3 separate regions of the Homo sapiens genome follow, and all the other regions are linked to region 2. Evidence: promoter capture Hi-C in human tissues and cell types (Jung and others, 2019). All regions are on one chromosome and are shown on one strand. Each heading gives the region's core, a stretch centred on a gene start or on the middle of the fragment in contact. The rest is flanking DNA. Distances are from core to core; before and after follow the strand shown. Region 1 overlaps GAL3ST3 (galactose-3-O-sulfotransferase 3). Region 2 holds the start of RIN1 (Ras and Rab interactor 1). Region 3 holds the start of RBM4 (RNA binding motif protein 4).

Region 1 (4,463 bases), core at 1,672-4,171, 290 kb after region 2:
CATTCCTGTGGGGAAAGGAGACTTGTGTGTGACCAAGCCCTCCTCCCCTCTCTTACTCCTGGGCTTACCTGGGATGGAAGCTCACCTTCTCCTGGAGATCCTCCGTAGGGCAACAAGCAGGAGCCACCTCTTACCCAACCCACACCCCGCCCAGGCTGCCATCTCATTGCTTTGGTCAGGCACTTTTCCCTGCAGAGTCAGCTGATGGGGCCGCCTGGGTTTCAGGTGTCTGGGGATGGAATCCAGATAGGGCTCCAGGATTTCAAGACCTTCCTTTCCCTCATGAATTTCTCAGTCTTGGGCCCTCAGGGCAGGAGCCCAGCTAGGAGCGCTCAGGACTCAGAAGGATGCAGAATTGCCAGAGTCTAGGGCAAGGTTGGGGAAACCAGTTCTCTACAGAAATAGCATATACAGTGTCTAAGGGCATGGACTTTGGAGCCAGAAACAGCAGGTATGAATCTCATTTCTACTGTTACCAGCTGTGTAGCTATGGACAAGTGATATAATCTCTTAGAGCCTCAGTTTCCTTATCTATACAGTGGGAATAATACCTAGGTCAGGGCTGTGGTGAGGACTAAATGGGATTAAGTATGTAATAATACAGTACATAGAGTAAGCCTGCAGTATCGACTCAAAGCCATATCGATCCAAGGAGGTGAAGGCCTGATCAGTGTTTCCGAGGAGCTCGGTTTCTCTGGGGAGTCAGGACCAACCCTGGGCTAAAGCAATTGGGCAAGGAGTCCTGGAGGAGAGGAAACTTTGAGTTGAGACCTCTATGTTCTGAGCCAAGCCCTGGCGCTAAAGCCACTCCACTGGGGAGACATGTACAAATAACCATGAGACAAAGACGAGTTAGGAGCAGGCAGAGAGACAGAGACAGGGCTGAGGGATGGGAGTGGCTACAGCCTGAAGGGCTGGCTACACCCCAGACCCTGTAATTCCACCCAAGACTAAGTTATCTGGAGCAGTGAGGAGATAGGGTCTTGATAACGGGAGGTAGGAATCCGATCTGCCCTGGCCTCTCTGCTTACCCCACCTGTTGGAGCTCTTTGCATCAGACCTGCTGGGGGCCAGATCCCATCTCCTCTGCCCACTGCAAACCCGTCTGCCTTCTTCTGCCAGGCTTCTCGGGAACACTGGCCCTGCTACCAGAGCCGCAGGATCCCCCATGAGTGCCTGTGAAGGGAGTCCTGGATAGTGAGGCCCTGGCTGGTCCAGGGGTGGGTACTCCGCCATGCCACCCATCCTCCAGCGCCTGCAGCAGGCCACCAAGATGATGAGCCGCCGGAAAATCCTGCTGCTGGTGCTAGGGTGCAGCACCGTAAGCCTTCTCATCCACCAGGGGGCGCAGCTCAGCTGGTAAGGGGGCGGGGCCCCAGGGGGGCCGGAGCTCCCCTCCCCATTCTTCCACCTGCTAGAAGGGTCCTGCTAGGCTTTGCTCCTCCCCTCTATTCTGAAAGTGCTTTCCCTTTAGGGCCACACAGCCTCCCTGGACAGGGACTGCTCTTCAATGAAAGGGCTGAGTGACTTGCTCAAAGTTACAGAATCAGTTAGCTGAGATCCGAATCCAGCTCAACTCCCCACAGCATGCAGCTAAGCATTTCCCCAGTGGAAACAACTTCTCACAACTTCCGTAGTGCTGGGCAAGGCCAAGTCCCCTCACTTCTCCGAGCCCCCGTTTTCTCATCTATAAAGTGAGACATGATATGTGTGACACAGCCAGTCACCCTCACACAGGATACCATGTGATTCATGGGAACCCCAACCCTACTCCTGACTCACTGTGTGAACCCAACAAATCCCTGCACCTCTCGGAGACTTCATGTCCCCATTTTCTACACTGTCTGCCCCTGAGAATGGTGTGAATGCGCCCAGCCCCCCTTGCCAGATAATTTGGTTTGAAATCCCAAACACCCATGTTTTAAGAATGAAGCAACAGAAATGAAAGCTTCACGAGGGCTAGGATTGTTTTTGTATATTACTGTATTTCTTGAACCTAGCATTAACCTGGCACATAGTGGACACCCAAAAAATATTTGATGACTGAATTAATGAGGCTTTAGAAGCCTCAAGAGAAACATAACAATGGGTTGCTGCAAAGCCCAGTGCCAACCATCTACAAAGTGAGGAGCCAGTTAAAGAGTAAAAATGAGAAAGAGCAAAAGGATTTAGTGACCATGTGAGTCGTCTCCAGACTTTGTGTAAGTGATTGTTCTCCTTTTGGCCCTCAGTTTCTACATATACAAAGTGGGATTCCTCAAAGATCTCCAGGGGTCTTTGTCCCTTATTTATTTCTACATAAACAAATTATCTTAAAGCTTAGCAGCTGAAAACACAAACATCTGTTATTTTGGGTCAGGAAGCCAGGTGTGGCTTACTGGGAACTTCTGGACCAAGGTCTTTCATGGGGTTGCAACCAAGGTGTTTGCTGGTGATGCAGTCTCATCCGAAGGCTTGATTGGAAGGGATCAGCTTCCAAGCTCACTCACGTGGTTTTGACAGGCTTCAGGTCTTCAAGCCGGCTGGTGGACTGAGGGCCTTAGGTCCTTGTGGGCTTTTCCCACTTAGTGGTAGCTCCCTATAGGGCTGCCCACTATATGGCAGCTTGCTTCCCCCATCATCTGTCATCCCAGATTGAGTGAAAGACACCAAGATACTAGCCAGCCACAGTCTTTCTATGATGAAATTTAAGAAGTGACATCCCATCATTTCTGCCCTCTTCTCTTCTTTAGATGCAATGATAAGTCCAGCCTAACTCAGGTGAGGGGAATACTCAAGGGCATGAATACCAGGAGGGCAGCAGGGATCATAGAGGGCATCTTAGAGGCTACCAAGCACCGCCCTCGACCTTTCCATGAGTGCAGCCCAGGCGGGGCCGCGCTGTGGGGCATCCCACAGTCCTTGGGTAAGGGCAGGGGTCAAGCGGCAGCCCCCTCACACCCTCCTCTCCGCACACTCCCTGGGCCTGGCAGGTACCCCAAGCTGTTCCCCTTGAGCTGCCCTCCTCTGCGGAACTCGCCGCCGCGCCCCAAGCACATGACTGTGGCCTTCCTGAAGACTCACAAGACGGCAGGCACGACGGTGCAGAACATCCTGTTTCGCTTTGCCGAGCGCCACAACCTGACGGTGGCCCTGCCGCACCCGAGCTGCGAGCACCAGTTCTGCTACCCCCGCAACTTCTCGGCGCACTTCGTGCACCCGGCCACGCGGCCGCCGCACGTGCTGGCCAGCCACCTGCGCTTCGACCGTGCGGAGCTGGAGCGCCTCATGCCGCCCAGCACCGTCTATGTCACCATCCTGCGCGAGCCGGCCGCCATGTTCGAGTCGCTCTTCAGCTACTACAACCAGTACTGCCCGGCCTTCCGGCGCGTACCCAACGCCTCGCTCGAGGCCTTCCTGCGCGCGCCCGAGGCATACTACCGCGCTGGCGAGCACTTCGCCATGTTCGCACACAACACGCTGGCCTACGACCTGGGCGGCGACAATGAGCGCAGCCCGCGCGACGACGCCGCCTACCTGGCGGGCCTCATCCGCCAGGTGGAGGAGGTTTTCTCGCTCGTCATGATCGCCGAGTACTTCGACGAGTCGCTAGTGCTGCTGCGGCGCCTACTGGCCTGGGACCTGGACGACGTGCTCTACGCCAAGCTCAACGCGCGCGCCGCCAGCTCGCGCCTGGCCGCCATCCCCGCGGCGCTGGCGCGGGCGGCGCGCACCTGGAACGCCCTGGACGCCGGCCTCTACGACCACTTCAACGCCACCTTCTGGCGCCACGTGGCGCGCGCGGGCCGCGCGTGCGTGGAGCGCGAGGCGCGCGAGCTGCGCGAGGCCCGCCAGCGCCTACTGCGGCGCTGCTTCGGGGACGAGCCACTGCTGCGGCCTGCCGCGCAGATCCGCACCAAGCAGCTGCAGCCGTGGCAGCCCAGCCGCAAGGTGGACATTATGGGCTATGACCTGCCCGGCGGCGGCGCCGGCCCGGCCACCGAGGCCTGCCTCAAGCTGGCCATGCCCGAGGTCCAGTACTCGAACTACCTGTTGCGCAAGCAGAAGCGCCGGGGCGGTGCGCGGGCTCGGCCCGAGCCCGTCCTGGACAATCCCCCGCCTCGGCCCATCCGAGTGCTGCCTCGCGGCCCTCAAGGTCCCTGAGCTCCGCAGGCCTCCAGGAGTATGGGTCCTGCCCTGCCCTCCCAGGAGTCCAGCCAGGGGCTGCCTCCATGTCCTGCCCCCATGAGAGCCCTTTCTTTTCAAGGGGCTTGAGTCCCTCGCTGAACTTTGGGGTACGCCTCCCTATCTGAGCCCCCGCTCCCGATCGTGGGCTGAACCTTGCCTTCGGGCACGGCGCTGATAGGCTGGATCCAGCGCTGGGCCACCCTCTCCTTCCCAGCTGGTTGGTGATTTTGACAAGAGGCCTGAGGGCTGTCCAGAACTGCTCACCCTGCCTTTTTCTGGGGGCTGAGCCCCCACAA
Region 2 (3,994 bases), core at 1-2,500:
GTGGCCGTGGAGCTGACCTGACCAGGCAAGGCTGCTGTCTCCATCCCTGAGCCGCCTGCCACCTCCCACTCCTGAAGATCCATCTCTTGGGGCTCCCCTGACAGAGAAGACAGCCGAAGTCAAAGCCACATCCTCTTGCTGATGTTGGATGCAGGCTGTCCGGCCTCAGGGCCAGGGAGCCAGTTTCCACTGTGCGGGAACTCTGAGTCAGACGTGATTATCTGGGGGTCTGTCCACCCTGGCTGGATCTGGAGGCAAGATGCCAGGCCCCCCAGGTGTTCTCAGGGCAGTTCTTGGTGTCTGCTTCTCAGATTCCAAGGACTGGAATTAAAACCTTTCCTGGGACTCTGGCGTGCCCTGTGTGTGTGTGTGATTTACCTTGCAAGAGAATCAGGGCTCCCGTGGGGAGCACCTGAACCAGGCCGACTTCTAGGGTGCCTGCAGATTGCCACTCCTCACACTACCCAGCAGAGGCTAGAGCACTGTGCGTGGGGCCAGGCTGGGGAGGGGGAGGTGGGCGCTGGGCTGCCTGGCGCTGGGCAGAGTCAACATATGGCACCGGGAGAGTGCCTCGGCGGGGAGGGTGGATGCGTGTGCTTGGAGCCTGGGTCATGTCTGCACCTGTCCCAGTTGCCTGGCAGATTGGCAAGGCAGGCTGGCAGAGCCTGCGTGCGTGGGAGGCAGCCGGCAGCACCGCCATGTGCTGACGACCTCACAGCCAGACTCCCCCTGGTTAGCACTGAGTGTCAGAACCACCCCCAGAACCTCAGTTAAGCAAATAGGTTGGTTTCCATGGAGACATGGCATATTTTCTCCATGGCAACCTAAAATCCTAAAACCCAGGTTCAGGAATGAGTCATCTATGGACAGTAGAGGGTGCTCTCCCACAAGGCTGACCTGAGGCCAGGGGCAGATGAGCAACTGACCACAGAGCCAAAGGTGCCCCCAGAGCATGGCTGGGGCCTGTGGGGACTGAGGCCGCTTAACCACTTCCCGCCCACGTGTGCAATGTGAGTAGCTGGTGAGGCTGCAGGAGGCCGTGTGTGGAGGTGGCATCCCCCAGCTGGGGCCCTCAGAGCAGGGCTAGCATGGAGGGGACCCCTGACCCCCAAAGCAGGGTCCAGAACAGAGGAGGCGGGCACTGGCCAGGCAGGGTGGACACACAAGAGTTAACTGGCGGGTGTGACAGGCGGACCGCCCTCAGGAAGTGTTACTCACTGGGGATGTGCGTGCCTTGCCTTGGGACTGGATTCTCTTCCTGAAGCGAAGGAGCTCCCAGCCATGGAAAGCCCTGGAGAGTCAGGCGCGGGCTCTCCTGGAGCCCCCAGCCCGTCCAGCTTCACTACTGGGCACCTGGCGAGAGAAAAGTTAGTGAAGTTGGCAGGGCAGCCAGGTGGGGCAGGGAGGGGCTGCGAGAGGAGGGCCTATCCGGGGATAGAGAAAGTGGGAAACCCGGGAGTGGGGAAGAGGAGAGCAAGGGTCCCAGCCCCTGGCTCCCTGCTCAGATCTGGGTGCCTGCCCCCAGGCCAGCCCAGGACCCACTGTATGACGTGCCCAATGCCAGCGGCGGGCAGGCAGGCGGGCCGCAGCGGCCGGGGCGCGTTGTGAGCCTGCGGGAGCGCCTGCTGCTCACCCGGCCCGTGTGGCTGCAGCTGCAAGCCAACGCAGCGGCCGCACTGCACATGCTGAGGACCGAGCCCCCGGGGGTGAGTCTTGCCCCACACTCCAGGGACTGGCCAGCCAGGGGTGGGAGGGAGAGGGATGGGACGCCAAGGTCCTGAGCTGCCTGAGCCCTATCCACTTGCAGACGTTCCTCGTGCGGAAATCTAACACCCGCCAGTGCCAGGCCCTGTGCATGCGGTTGCCTGAAGCCAGTGGCCCCTCCTTCGTCTCCAGCCACTACATCCTGGAGAGCCCTGGCGGTGAGGGGCTGGCCTGGCGGGAAGGGGCTGGAAGCAGGGAGGTTCCCCAGAGAAGCACCTCACTTCCCTCCTCTCTCAGGCGTCTCCTTGGAGGGCTCGGAGCTCATGTTCCCAGACCTAGTCCAGCTCATCTGTGCCTACTGCCACACCCGGTGAGTCTGCCCGCAGGGTGCCTGGTGTCCACGGGCCCTGCTCCTTGGGACAGCCCATCCTTCCCGCCCTCTTCGGCCCTCACTCCCTTCTGCTCCCCTCTCTGGCCTCAGGGACATCCTTCTCCTCCCGCTGCAGCTCCCCAGAGCCATCCACCACGCAGCCACTCACAAAGAGCTGGAGGCCATCTCCCATCTGGGCATTGGTAAGGGCTTCCTGCCACCCATTGCACAGATGAACAAGCTGAGGCCGAGGGGAAGGCAAGGCTCGCAGCACACCGCCCGAAGCCCCTGCCTTGCCTTGGTTGGGAAACTTCCCCTAACCAGTCCCGGAGGCCCCAGTCGGTTTCTTGTTCCCTAGAGTTCTGGAGCTCCTCCCTCAACATCAAGGCTCAGCGGGGCCCGGCTGGAGGCCCAGTGTTGCCCCAGCTGAAGGCCCGGTCCCCTCAAGAGCTGGACCAGGGCACCGGAGCCGCCTTGTGCTTCTTCAACCCCCTGTTCCCGGGGGACCTAGGGCCCACCAAGCGGGAGAAATTCAAGAGAAGCTTCAAAGTGCGCGTGTCCACAGAGACCTCCAGCCCCCTGTCTCCACCTGCCGTGCCACCTCCCCCCGTCCCCGTGCTGCCAGGGGCAGTCCCCAGCCAGACAGAGCGGCTGCCCCCTTGCCAGCTGCTACGGAGGGAGAGCTCAGTGGGGTACCGCGTGCCAGCAGGCAGTGGCCCTAGCCTTCCGCCTATGCCCTCCCTCCAAGAGGTGGACTGCGGCTCCCCCAGCAGCTCCGAGGAGGAGGGGGTGCCAGGGTCCCGGGGGAGCCCAGCGACCTCACCCCACCTGGGCCGCCGACGACCTCTGCTTCGGTCCATGAGCGCCGCCTTCTGCTCCCTACTGGCACCGGAGCGGCAGGTGGGCCGGGCTGCGGCAGCACTGATGCAGGACCGACACACAGCCGCGGGCCAGCTGGTGCAGGACCTACTGACCCAGGTGCGGGCTGGGCCCGAGCCCCAGGAGCTGCAGGGCATCCGTCAGGCGCTGAGCCGGGCCCGGGCCATGCTGAGTGCGGAGCTGGGCCCTGAGAAGCTGCTGTCGCCTAAGAGGCTGGGTGAGGCTCCGTCTCTCCATAGCTCCAGCACTGCCCCATCCGACCCTCTGCTCCCCTCCACAGCGCCAGCCTGTCTGATTCTGTTCTGCTGCTTTACAAATCCATCTTGTCTTACCACTGTTCGAGAGAGTTCCATCCCCTCTCTCCCCCAACTCTTCCGTCTCACCCAGGCTACCTCCTCCTGCTTTCCTTGCCTCTCCTCCCCGATTCTACCCCTGCTCCCTTCTCCCCTTGCCTCTGCCCCCCATACCCCCAGTCTTCCCCTGACCCCTCCCTGTCCCTCCGGCAGAACATGTCCTGGAGAAGTCATTGCATTGCTCTGTGCTCAAGCCTCTCCGGCCCATCCTGGCAGCCCGCCTGCGGCGCCGGCTTGCCGCAGACGGCTCCCTGGGCCGCCTAGCTGAGGGCCTCCGCCTGGCCCGGGCCCAGGGCCCCGGAGCCTTCGGGTCCCACCTGAGCCTGCCCTCCCCAGTAGAGTTGGAGCAAGTGCGCCAGAAGCTGCTGCAGCTGCTCCGCACCTACTCACCCAGCGCCCAGGTCAAGCGGCTCCTGCAGGCCTGCAAGCTGCTCTACATGGCCCTGAGGACCCAGGAAGGTATGTCCCTGCCACCACCTCACCCTGCCCTGCCCCTTTGAGTCAGAGGCGGGCCCCCCAGCGGCAGGTCCCCAGGACCCTAGAACAGCCCTGCAGGAGAGAATGAGCCCACCCTCCCCTCTTGCAGATGGCGAAACTGAGGCCTAGAGAGGAGCGCATCCTTTCTGAAGCCCCTCAATGGTTGCTAGGGCATGGGGAGGGGTCACTGCCTAAAGCAAGGACTGTACCT
Region 3 (4,347 bases), core at 1,783-4,282, 300 kb before region 2:
CAGAAAACACAATAGGGAAACGGGGGTGGAAGGAACAAAATATCAAGGAGGTCTACACAGCTGGAAGTTTAGGTTGCAGGTTATTAAAAGAGAGTAGATATGCAATTATGCACTTAAGTGCCTTAAAGTGCTAGCTTGTCTCTGGCATTTGCCCAGGGGGCCACTTTGGCACCTAACAAAACCAGAGAAAACAAGTGCAACTAAGCAAGCAACTATGCACATTCCAGACATAAAGATCATTAATAAACGCCTTAATCTAAGGATCTGTTGGTTCTAACGCCAGAAAAAGAAGTTAAATTTTAAAAAATATCTAAAAGAGATTTTAAGTGGGCAAGCAATAGAGAAGATACCCAACACTGAGAAACGGAAAGGAAAAAAGACCACCCTAATAACTACTGCTCATCAATATACATCTATAATTCTACCAGAACAGTATTAAGAAATGAGAAACGCCAATATTACATAAAATAAGGTAAAAATAACTAAGCATAGGTTAGTGTCAGGGGACCTAGGGTTCAGACACCCAGAGTTTTATATAAGGATAATTTGTCCTGAATCAAGACCACACTGTCCTCTCCTTAAACCTAACTGCTACAAGCAGACACCACCTCTTCTGACTGGGCTGAAGTGTGGGAAACAGTCCAAAAATTAGGTATCACACCATAAACCCTCCACAAGAGCAACCTTTGCTCTCAATTAAGTTGTTGACAAAATAATTCTCAACTTGCCAATTAAAAAAAAGAAAGCAAACTAGACCTGAGAGACCTGTGTCACTTTTCTTTACTAACGCACAGCAATGCCCATGACACAGGGCACCCATTACTAGGGGAAATAATGATCAGACTCTCAGCTCTAAAAAAGCCCAATTTAAGGGAAATGGACGCCAAAGGCAGCAATGACTCTTAACAAAGGTAGTACCCAGAAAAAGAATCGGCAAACTACACTGTCAGAACACAGGTTTGAAATATAGCAAGGAGTCACGGAAATACTCCATAATTTGAATAAGGCTTTTTTTATTTTTTATTATTTTTGTTCAGTCCTGCTTAATTAAGCTAAAAAAGGACACCACTCTTTTTGACACTGGGAACCCAAAGGAGGTGAAAGAAGAGTTCAGATAGCAACTCACCATGATCACCACCCCTGAACTGCCACTGTTGCTTCAGACCTCAGATTTTGGAATATTTGCGTTCTACGTACCATTTTAGCATCCCAAATCTGAAAATTCAAAATCCAAAATGCTCTAACAAGCATTTCCTTTGAGCAACATGTAGGCATTCAAAATGCTGGGGATTTGAGATGCTTCCAAATGAAGTGACAATCCACATATCACCCATGCTGCCCTCCAGGCACAAAAGATTCATTTGGTTAAGACTCCAAGATAACACAAATCTAAGTGCTCTATTCACCAAAATCTTATAAAGTCCAGCCCCCCAAACCAATGAAAAGACAGTCATTACCGCCCCTAAAACCCCAGTGCCTCCTCCCCAGGAAGTCCTAAAATCAGCCTTGTAATTCTAGAGTGGCCTTAAACTCAAAATACAATCCCTTGGTACAGGTATAATATAAAAGCAACAAGAGCTGTAACCCTTTAAAGAGTTTGTGTAAGGTAGGACAGCTTAACAAGGATTCTGGTCCTATAAGTGTCGCTTGACATGTTTTTGAGAGGTTCTTCACGTAAAATGCAGAATTCTGATCCTGTGCTGAGGGCAATAAATTCAGAGTGAGGAACTCTGAACTGTGCTCTACTACAAAAAAATAAAAAATAAAAAAGGCCCAGTAACTCAGAAAGCCTTCAAAGAAAAGGGTTTCTGCACTGATAAGCACAAAAGCCGTAGGGGCTCCAAATAAAAGGTGAGTGGCTTTTCTCCAGGAGACATTTGCCTAAGGTAAAGCCCCTAAGTCCCATGCATTCTACATCATAAGAAGTCCATCACCCACACTTATTTCTTCATCACCAGCCAGCCAACAGCTGTTATCTTTACCAAACCTCTCCTTTTACTTATCCAACCATTTTCTGCACACAGCCTTGTGTTCAGCCCTCTACCCAAAGAGGGTGGTTCACCTTGAAACTCTGTGTTATCAAGGCCCCTGATGGCCTCCACTGCATCCTCTGCCCGCTCCATGTGTACGAAGGCATAATCTTTCACGATGTCACATTCGATGACCGGACCATACTCCTCAAACTTGGCTCGAAGCTCCTTATTGGTGCAGGTGGGACTGATGTTGCCCACATGCAACTTTGTTGAGGTTTTGCTCTTATTCTTGCTGGCTTCCACGTTGATGTTCACCCCATGAAGCTTGTAATGGTGCAGGTTGCGTATGGCATCCTCAGCTGCCGTCTTGTCTTCTATGTGCACAAAGCCGTAATTCTTAATGATGTCACATTCCAGCACCTTCCCATACTGCTCGAAGAGTGAGCGAATCTCCTGCTCTGTAGCCTCCCGGGGCAGGTTTCCGATGAACAGCTTCACCATCCTGACAAGAGCCTGGGAGAGAAAAACAAGACATCTGACAAAAGACCTCAGGCCCACATCCGTTCACAAAAGACAACGACTTTCACTCTAATGTATATTTCCAGTTTTCTCTCTCACACGCCTGCACACACACCTCCACACAATAATCAAATGGAAGTGGGAGTGAACTAAGGCCTGCTATAGTAGCCGCCATGAACCTGTAAGAATAAGAAGACGTCTGCAATAGGGAGGTCCTTAGTAGACAAAGGGTTTGGTAAGAACCGATACCTTCCAACAGAAATGGGCATGAAAGACAGCATATGAAGAAATGGGGGTACTAGGCTTTTCTATCCACTAGGAGGACAACAGAAAACAAAAGTCTACTAGGCTTGCTGACTGCCTGCCTGAAATTATCAACAGGCTTTTCCTCACGTAGGAACCAAAGCAGCCATCATTTCCGGGAAAATGGGCCTTGTAATAGCTACATTTGAGTTTCCTTTGGAAGTAATGAACGCGCGACTCGGATCAGACAGCGAGGAGTGGGAGATAAAGGAAATACTGGAGTGGTGAACGCCTCTCTCGGGGCACCGTCCTAGCTCCTGCCGAACACTGAAATGCGCGGCCGCGGAAAAGAGCTTCAGATTCATTAACCAGACGATGTCTCACGGCCCGAGAAATTCCCGAAACGAGAATGTAACTGTCAGATATAAGGGAAAGGGGGTTATCCCAGTGGAAATCTCGAGGCTCCAAGAGCAGCCATGTCGGGCGCGGGACAGGGTGGGCGAAAAAAAGCAAGGTATTCTCAGGGGGCGGTGGGGGAAGGGCTGCTCCCGGCTTACCGCGCAATGCCGAGGACCGAGGTCGGCTCTCAGTGACGGGTGTGGAGACTGCGGACCTACCAGGACACCCCCGAAGCCCAAGGGAGTGAGAGAAGATTTAACACAGTACAAGAAAGGCAGTGGAAAGGCTCGGAGTCTCACCCGCACAGAAACCAGCAGGGCCTCCTCCTCGCGGCGCGGACGCTTCTGACAAAACGCTAAAATGGCGGCGGCCGCAGCAGTGCTCTGAGTAGAAGGGGGAGGTGAGCCTACAACCGGATTGGCCACTCAAGAAAGTAAAAGGCCGGCGTTCCCTCAGATCCTCTTCCTGATTGGTTACCACGGACGCCAATTACCTAAGAGGCCGGCAAGAGGTGGAAACGTCTGTAACCTCGGAGCTTTTATGCGAAAGCCAATGGGCACCAACCTCGCGAAGCCGAACTCGCTGATTGGGCAAGAGATCAGCGTGAGGGCGGACCTACAAACGTGGGCTTCGCCGGCGGGGTGCGGCCCGCCATTAGGCGGAGCGAGCTAGAGCCCCGGGGTAGCAGTCTTTAGCTTCATGGCGCCAACTTCGTTAAGCTTCCACATTTCGCCACCTCCACGTGCACAGCCAGACAGTATTCCGCGCTCCATTTTGCCGTTCACTCTAGGTGTCTCCCTCTAACCTCCCAAGCACCACCCCCCCTCGCGGCCAGGACGCTGTGGAAATAGCTTATGCAGGCACATGCCAGGGAAGAAAAACAACGAAGACCCCCCCCAACCCACCACCCACCACTTCAGGAAACCAACCTTCTCCTTGGGCCAGCAGTCCACACTGTAGCCTTGAGAGTCCCGGAGCTCCCCCAAAATCAAACCTCTCACAGGTGGTGAAAGGACCTCTGTAATGGCCTTCCAGAAGTAGGCCCGGCAGGAGGCTGCACTGTCCAGGAGACGCTGAGGACAAGTTCCCTCTGGGAACCAGCCTCCCAGGGTCCGCGATGAAGAAACCTTTCTGAGACCATGGAGATTTAAAGTATACCCCGACCCCACCCTGAGAAAAAACTGGAGCAGCAAAGGTTTTTTTGTTTTATTTT

The links. The method cuts DNA at HindIII sites, captures the fragments that hold promoters and counts their contacts. A contact is called where the count stands out against the background at its distance.
Region 1: a contact is called between a fragment that was not itself captured here and the fragment with the promoter of RIN1 in region 2, in 1 of the 25 tissues and cell types used here (pancreas).
Region 3: a fragment that was not itself captured here is called in contact with the fragment with the promoter of RIN1 in region 2 in 1 of the 25 tissues and cell types used here (dorsolateral prefrontal cortex).

Annotation. Positions count from the first base shown.
Region 1 is chr11:66,042,187-66,046,649 of GRCh38, reverse strand. It overlaps GAL3ST3 (galactose-3-O-sulfotransferase 3), which reads left to right. Exons shown (of 3, transcript NM_033036.3): 2 at 1,123-1,359; 3 at 2,973-4,463. The coding sequence starts at 1,235. The coding sequence ends at 4,143. Among named protein-coding and RNA genes, the nearest start is that of GAL3ST3, 4.7 kb to the left of the region's middle. RefSeq lists an enhancer at 1,008-1,207 and a silencer at 1,318-1,367. The HindIII fragment of the contact is 5,576 bases long and covers 134-4,463 here.
Region 2 is chr11:66,333,690-66,337,683 of GRCh38, reverse strand. RIN1 (Ras and Rab interactor 1) reads left to right here and starts at 1,250. Exons shown (of 10, transcript NM_004292.3): 1 at 1,250-1,367; 2 at 1,526-1,706; 3 at 1,808-1,922; 4 at 2,002-2,074; 5 at 2,186-2,277; 6 at 2,433-3,170; 7 at 3,460-3,765. The coding sequence starts at 1,282. BRMS1 (BRMS1 transcriptional repressor and anoikis regulator) reads left to right here. Exons shown (of 10, transcript NM_015399.4): 10 at 1-345. RefSeq lists an enhancer at 1-770. The HindIII fragment of the contact is 7,337 bases long and covers 1-3,307 here.
Region 3 is chr11:66,637,839-66,642,185 of GRCh38, reverse strand. All of the region lies in intron 1 of RBM14-RBM4 (RBM14-RBM4 readthrough), which reads right to left. It overlaps RBM4 (RNA binding motif protein 4), which reads right to left and starts at 3,483. Exons shown (of 4, transcript NM_002896.4): 1 at 3,434-3,483; 2 at 2,063-2,486. The coding sequence starts at 2,474. RefSeq lists enhancers at 2,607-3,318, 3,185-3,554, 3,319-4,032. The HindIII fragment of the contact is 5,623 bases long and covers 221-4,347 here.